2 separate regions of the Homo sapiens genome follow, and region 2 is linked to region 1. Evidence: promoter capture Hi-C in human tissues and cell types (Jung and others, 2019). All regions are on one chromosome and are shown on one strand. Each heading gives the region's core, a stretch centred on a gene start or on the middle of the fragment in contact. The rest is flanking DNA. Distances are from core to core; before and after follow the strand shown.

Evidence for each region. Contacts are between HindIII fragments. The study calls those that stand out against the background at their distance.
Region 2: a contact is called between a fragment that was not itself captured here and the fragment with the promoter of USP4 in region 1, in 2 of the 25 tissues and cell types used here (adrenal gland and liver).

Annotation. Positions count from the first base shown.
Region 1 is chr3:49,338,382-49,341,762 of GRCh38, forward strand. USP4 (ubiquitin specific peptidase 4) reads right to left here and starts at 1,672. Exons shown (of 22, transcript NM_003363.4): 1 at 1,543-1,672. The coding sequence starts at 1,643. RefSeq lists a silencer at 1,613-1,802 and enhancers at 1,843-2,342, 1,973-2,142, 2,233-2,292. The HindIII fragment of the contact is 25,899 bases long and covers 1-3,381 here.
Region 2 is chr3:49,076,562-49,079,942 of GRCh38, forward strand. QRICH1 (glutamine rich 1) reads right to left here. Exons shown (of 10, transcript NM_198880.3): 2 at 148-477. The coding sequence starts at 456. Among named protein-coding and RNA genes, the nearest start is that of QRICH1, 16 kb to the right of the region's middle. The HindIII fragment of the contact is 7,025 bases long and covers 1-3,381 here.

The DNA of each region.
Region 1 (3,381 bases), core at 422-2,921:
GGGCGCAGTAGCTTCCGCCTGTAATCCCAGCACTTTGGGAGGCCACAGCGGGCGATCACCTGAGATCTGGAATTCGAGACCAGCCTGACCAAAATGGAGAAACCCCGTCTCTACTAAAAATACAAAAAAAATTAGCCGGCCGTGGTGGCGCATGCCTGTAATCCTAGCTACTGGGGAGGCTGAGGCAGGAGAATCGCTTGAACATGGGAGGGGGAGGTTGCCGTGACCCGAGATCGCGCCATTGCCCTCCAGCATGGGCAACAAGAGCGAAATTCCTTCTCAAAAAAAAAAAAAAAAAGAAAAGAAAAGAAAAGAAAACACAAAAAAAGTACCTCTGTTTACCCTGCCTTTCACAAACTGGTTAGCTCAAGGTGAATACATAAGCTGTTATCTGTACTCCTCCTAACCCCAATTTTTCTATTCTCCTGCTCAATTCCTCGGCAGATCATCACCACAATGATTTCTTAAAGATAGGTAACACTCGGGCCGAGCACGGTGGCTCCCACCTGTAATCCCAGCACTTTGGGAGGCCGAGGCGGGTGGATCATAAGGTCAAGAGTTTGAGACCAGCCTACCCAACATGGTGAAACCCGGTCTCTACTAAAAATACAAAAAATTAGCTGGGTGTGGTGGCGTGAGCCTGTAATCCCAGCTACTCGGGAGGCTGAGGCAGGAGAATCGCTTGAACCCGGGAGGCGGAGGTTGCCGTGAGCCAAGATCACGCCACTGCACTCCAGCTTGGGCAACAAGAGTGAAACTCCATCTCAAAACAAAACAAAACAAACAAGATGGGTAACAATCATACTCGATGCAAAGTCTAGCCTTAGTTTTTCTACTCCTACACAATTACACCACCCAGGAATCTCTCCAGTAGTACAAAGTATTGTCCCCTCTACTAAACAATCTATTAAGATGCCTAATAACTCAGCCTGGGTCTTCTAAATTCTGGACCCTTCATCTTCTATCTAGCTCCAGGACCTAGGCTATCCTCCTCTCCCACTCCAAGACACTGCTGCCGCAAATATTTTTGACACTTGCTACCAAAATAATCGGGGTTCTCAGACATTTGTTCAGCTTCTGACCTTGACATCTGTTGGCAGTTTACAAGTTACAAAGTATCTACTTCTGATTTTCCCCTCAACCCACTGAGGTCGGTGAGCCAAATATTGCTATCCTGGTTTTAACAGTGAGGAATCCAGGTCTGTGACACCTTCGCCCAAGGTCACACGGCGAGTCCTCATGGTAAAGGGCTCTCCCCACCCTTAGGGTCCCCACCAACCTTCCCCTTCTCCACATCCCTCCTCCTGGCCCCCGCCGGGCCCGCCCCCTAGGGCTCCAAATGAACTGAGACGACACTCAGGCCCCGCCTGCGCTTTCCCAGAGCTGATCCTGGAGTTATTCTCCTGAGGGGCAGGTGTCAGGCTACTCTTCCAGGGTCACTACATACCATCCCCGCCCAGCCCCTACTCTAGCCGAGAAAAAGGAGGCCCCTTTTTCTCGGCCCCTGGTTCTGCATAGAGGAAGAGCGAGCCGGGAGCTCACCACTGCGCCCCGCGTTGGAGTGTGGTCCTCATTAAGGGTCCAAGCTCGGACTTCTGAGTCTCCGCATCCGGTCGCTCACGGCAGCCTCCACCTTCCGCCATCTCCTCCGCGGCCCCGGCCCAGCCGGCCCGGACATCCGCCCCGCGCGCGGCGTGCTATAGACCGCGCCCACGCACGCACGCTCGCGTGCCCGCCCCTGCCCCACCTCGAGCCGCGGCCTTCGGCTCCTGCAGCCGCTGTCTTTTCTCCCCTCCGCTCTCGCGCCACCTAGCTCACCGGCGAACAGTGGAGCGGAAAGGCACACGCGAGAGGGGTGGGCGGGGAGCAGCAGCTGCTACTTCCTCCCGCCCTGCCGCCCGCTACGCGGCCTTCGGGCGCCCCTTCCTCTGCTCAGGATGGCGCTACACTTCGAAGCTCTGTTCAGCCCGCCGATCTCAGGGAGTTAGGCAGCAAGCCCACGACCCATCGGGCACCCCAGCCTGGCCTTCGAGGTTATCGTGGTCCTAAATAAATGCAGGCCAGGTGCGAGAAGCCCGGTAGTTAGGTCTGCTCATTCTCACCCCTGCAATTCCGCTTTCAGCTGGAGGCCTTAGGCGAGTCAGCTGCCCAAACGTGGGATCGGGGCTCCTGCTCCAGCGGCCCTACAGGGATTTCGGGAAGTACCATGTGCACCAGCGCCTTGGGACCAAGACTCAATGGTGTGTTGTAGTCATTAACAGTCGCCTTAAACAGTCGACGCCAGAGCCACCTGGCCCACCGCAGAATTCCGTCAGCTCTTCATACTGAGCTACTTGCCAAGCAGCCACAGAGGGGCGATAGCAACAGGGGAAGGAGAGGTACTCCACATTAGTTACCCAGGCGTGTACTTAGTTCCTGGAACAAGATACAACGTCCTGAACACTATGTTTTCCAGTCGCCCCGCTCACACACACAACCCTCCTCTTGGAGGGAGAAGTAAACCCAGAGGAAAGAGGAAGTCAGGCAGTTGGTCTAGATGCGTCTCCATACACTTGTCTAACAGTCCTTGTCCTCAGAGAAAAATAAGACCTAGTTCCTGCCCTCATAGAATCTAGTAGAAAAGAAGAGATGTTACAGAAATAACCTCAATGCCTAGCAGTATGTGGTAAGTGCCATTAAAGTGTGTGAACCAGGCCGGGCGCGGTGGTTCAAGCCTGTCGTCCCAGCACTTTGGGAGGCTGAGGCGGAAGGATAGGTTCAGCCCAGGAGTTAGAGACCAACCTCGGCAACATAGCGAAATCCCGTCTCTACAAAAAAATACAAAAAATAGCCGGGCAGTGGCTCGCGTCTGTGGTCCCAGGTACTTGGGAGGCTGAGGTAGGAAGATCCCTTGAGCCCAGGAGGTCGAGGTTGCAGTGAGTCGAGATGGCGCCACTGCACTTGAGACTGGACGGCAAAGTGAGACCCTGTCTCAAAAAAAAAAAAATAAATACAAATAAAGGGTGTGAACCGGCCGGGCGCGGTGGCTCACACCTGTAATCCCAGCACTTTGGGAGGCCGAGGCAGGAGGATCACCTGAGGTCGGGCATTCGAGACCAGCCTGACCAACGTGGAGACCGAAATGTCTTAAAAAAAAAAAAAAAAAAAGACCGGGCGTCCGGCGCGGTGGTTCATGTTTGTAATCCTAGGACTTTGGGAGGCCGAGGCGGGCAGATCACGAGGTTAGGAGTTCGAGACCAGCGTGGCTAATATGGTGAAACCCCTTCTCTACTAAAAATACAAAAAAAAAAAAAAAAATTAGCCGTTAGTGGTGGCCCACACCTAGTCTCAGCTACTCGGGAGGCTAAGGCAGAAGAATCGCTTGAACCTGGGAGGCAGAGG
Region 2 (3,381 bases), core at 317-2,816, 260 kb before region 1:
GAAAAAACTTTTAGTCCACATTAACTTTGAAAATCTTAGTGTTAAATAACCTATAACATCCACATAGATGTGATGAGCCCACTAACTAAAACACTGACAACAAATAAAGTACATTAAACAGGCTGCACCTCAGCATTTCCCATATACCTGAACCTGCTGCGGCTGCTGAACCTGGATCTGCTGTTCTTGCTGGGTTTGTGGCTGAACACTGGTGGTGACTGGACAGGCAAGTTCAAGCAAAGACCCAGCCACTTCAGTGCTGTCTGTGTATATGCAGTTCCCACCCTGTTGGTACACCATGGTAGTGGTGGCTGTCTGCTGGAACTCCTGAAGGGCTTCTGGCCCCTTAGAGGCCAGTGAGTCCAGAAATTCCTTCATCCTGTGTTGCGGGACAGACCGTGCCTTTACTCGGATGTACTCTTCAAAGGAGATGGTGTTCTCTAGGGAATTATTCATATTGCAGAGTCCTTAGGGTTCCTAGAAATAAACAGAAGTCAAAATTATGTTACTGTTTTTAGCAGGAAATGCCCAGAAGCAATTACCCTTGCACAAGAGTGGAATATATTCAGGGCAGCTGTATACATATAGAATCAAAAAATAAAGTTTTATTATACCACCTTATTTTTTCAATTAATGGATGTTTGAAAATTATTTCTATTAACATTTCTTAAATAAAACTATCACACTGAAAACAAAAAAACAAACACATGCTTCACAATACTGGATGAAACAGGCTGAAAACACACTTCCTACCCAGCACTAGGTCAATCCCATCTTCTCTGCAGAGCCAAGCACTGGACAGTAAATGTCACATGCAAAACTGCTCTGTGACCATCACAGAGAGGACACCAAGCAAGGAGGAAGCTAGGGGCAGGGATTCCTATGGATATGTTTTATTTCCAAGTATTTCCTACAGCAGAGATAGGTATGCCACCTAGTTGTGGCAAGACACAAGAGGCAGAGGATATGTTCTTCATCTCCCATCAGAAAAACCAAAAATCCTATTTTGCCATGTGGTGCTCACATTCTTTTGCAACACAGCTTACTACTGGTTAAAAGCATGGACTCTGGAGCCAGGCTGCCTGGGTTCAAATCCCAACTTTATGTCTCCTTTATTATGTAACTCTAGAAAAGTCAATTAACCTTAGTTTTCTTGTGAGTAAATGGGGACACAATAGTACTTACCTCACAGTTGACATAAGGATTAAATAAGGCATTTAGAAAATCATCTAGCACATAGATAGCACTACAGAAATGTAACTAATACTATTAAAATAATTCTGGAAAAAAGGTAAATAGTGCTTTAAATATCCAGGTCACTACTAAAATTCAGAAATAAATTCTACAAGTTTTCATCAGGTATTTAATTACCTTAAGAATTAACCTGCAGACGTACAGTTAACTCTCATCATCTGAGGGAAAAGTGTGCAATCTGTGGACTGCTGACCCCTGTCGCTGCTACCTTTGTACCATCCTCCCTTCAACAGCCCGACCTCCAGAACAAAAGTAGCAGCAGGATGAAAGAGTAACAGAAAACAAGCGAACGTTTTTGCCAAAAAGGATTATCAGACAATTCTGAATGTCTGGAAAGGTGATTTGTTCCCTTGAGCAATCAGGATAGATACACTAGACTGACCAGATGCTCTACCTTATGTTACAGATATAAAATATGTGGGTAAACGTCTCCTTTCTTCTACCTAGGCTCTAAGTTCTTGGTAGACAAGACTATGTCCTGGTTCTCTCCGAATAGCTCACCCATGGTAGTTGCTTCATATATACCTGCTGCATTTGAAATTCAATGTGGAAAACGAAGAATTATGGTTCCTTTTTTTTTTTTTTTTTTTTTTTTTTGAGATGGAGTCTCATTCTGTTGCCCAGGCTGGAGTGCAGTGGCTTGATCTTGGCTCACTGCAAGCTCCACCTCCTGGGTTCACACCATTCTCCTGCCTCAGCCTCCCGAGTAGCTGGGACTACAGGCGCCCACCACCACGCCCAGCTAATTTTTTTGTATTTTTAGTAGAGACGAGGTTTCCCCATCTTAGCCAGGATGGTCTCGATCTCCTGACCTCGTGATCCGCCTGCCTCAGCCTCCCAAAGTGCTGAGATTACAGGCGTGAGCCACCACACCTGTCCTTTTTTTTTTTTTTTTTTTTTGAGTTGGAGTCTCCCTCTGTCGCCCAGGCTGGAGTGCAGTGGCACGATCTCGGCTCACTGCAGCCTCCCAGGTTCAAGTGATTTTCCTGCCTCAGCCTCCCGAGTAGCTGGGACTACAGGTGCCCACCACCATGCCCAGCTAATTTATGTATTTTTAGTAGAGACTGGGTTTTGCCATGTTGGCCTGGCTGGTCTCAAACTCCTGACTTCAGGTGACCCTCCCGCCTCGGCCTCCCAAAGTGCTGGGATTATAGACGTGAGCCACCCAATTGGTTTCTGTAATATCCATAGCTCCACGGACTCAAGCAATCCTTCCACCTCAGCCCAGGCAACATGGAGAAACCCCATCTCTACAAAAAATATATAAAAATTAACTGGGTATGGTGGTATGCACCTGTAGTCCCAGCTACTACGGAGGCTAAGGTAGAAGGATTGCTTGAGCCCAGAGATCGAGGCTGCAGTGACCCGAGATCACTCGAATGCACTCCAGCCTAGGCGACAGAGCGTAACTCTGTCTAAAAAAAACAAACAAACAAACAAACAAAAAAATTAAGTTATCAGCTGGTCACAGTGGTGCACACATGTAGTCTCAGCTACTCAGGAGGCTGAGGTGGAGGATTGCTTGAGACCAGGTCTTTGGGCTGGGAAACCTAGAGAGACTTTCATCTGTTAAAAGAAATAAATAAATAAAATAAAATAAATAATTATAATAAAATATTATAATAATTACAATTATGTAATATAAATATAATTTTTACATAAATATAAAAATATTATAATTATAATAATTAAATATTATAACAATTATAATAAAATACTATAATAAAATAATAATAATTAAGTGGTCAACGATGTCCACATCACACATAAAGAGAGCATCAGGCCAAGCACACTTTGCCTAACTACAGATTCAGAGAAGGCTACTTGGCTTAGGTGATCCGAGAGCACTCATTTGCCACACTTGCACAGAATGTATCAAAGTTCCCCTTTGTTAATAGCACAGTAGCGATTTCCTTAAGAAGGCATCTTTCAGCCCAGTGCGGTGGCTCACGCCTGTAATCCCAGCACTTTGGGAGGCAAAGGCAGGCAGATCACCTGAGGTCAGGAGTTTGAGACCAGCCTGGCCAACAAGGCGAAACCCTGTCTCTACTAAAAATACAAAAATTAGCCAGGCATGGTGTCAGGCACCTGTAATACCAGCTACTCGGGAGGCCGAGGCAGGAGAAT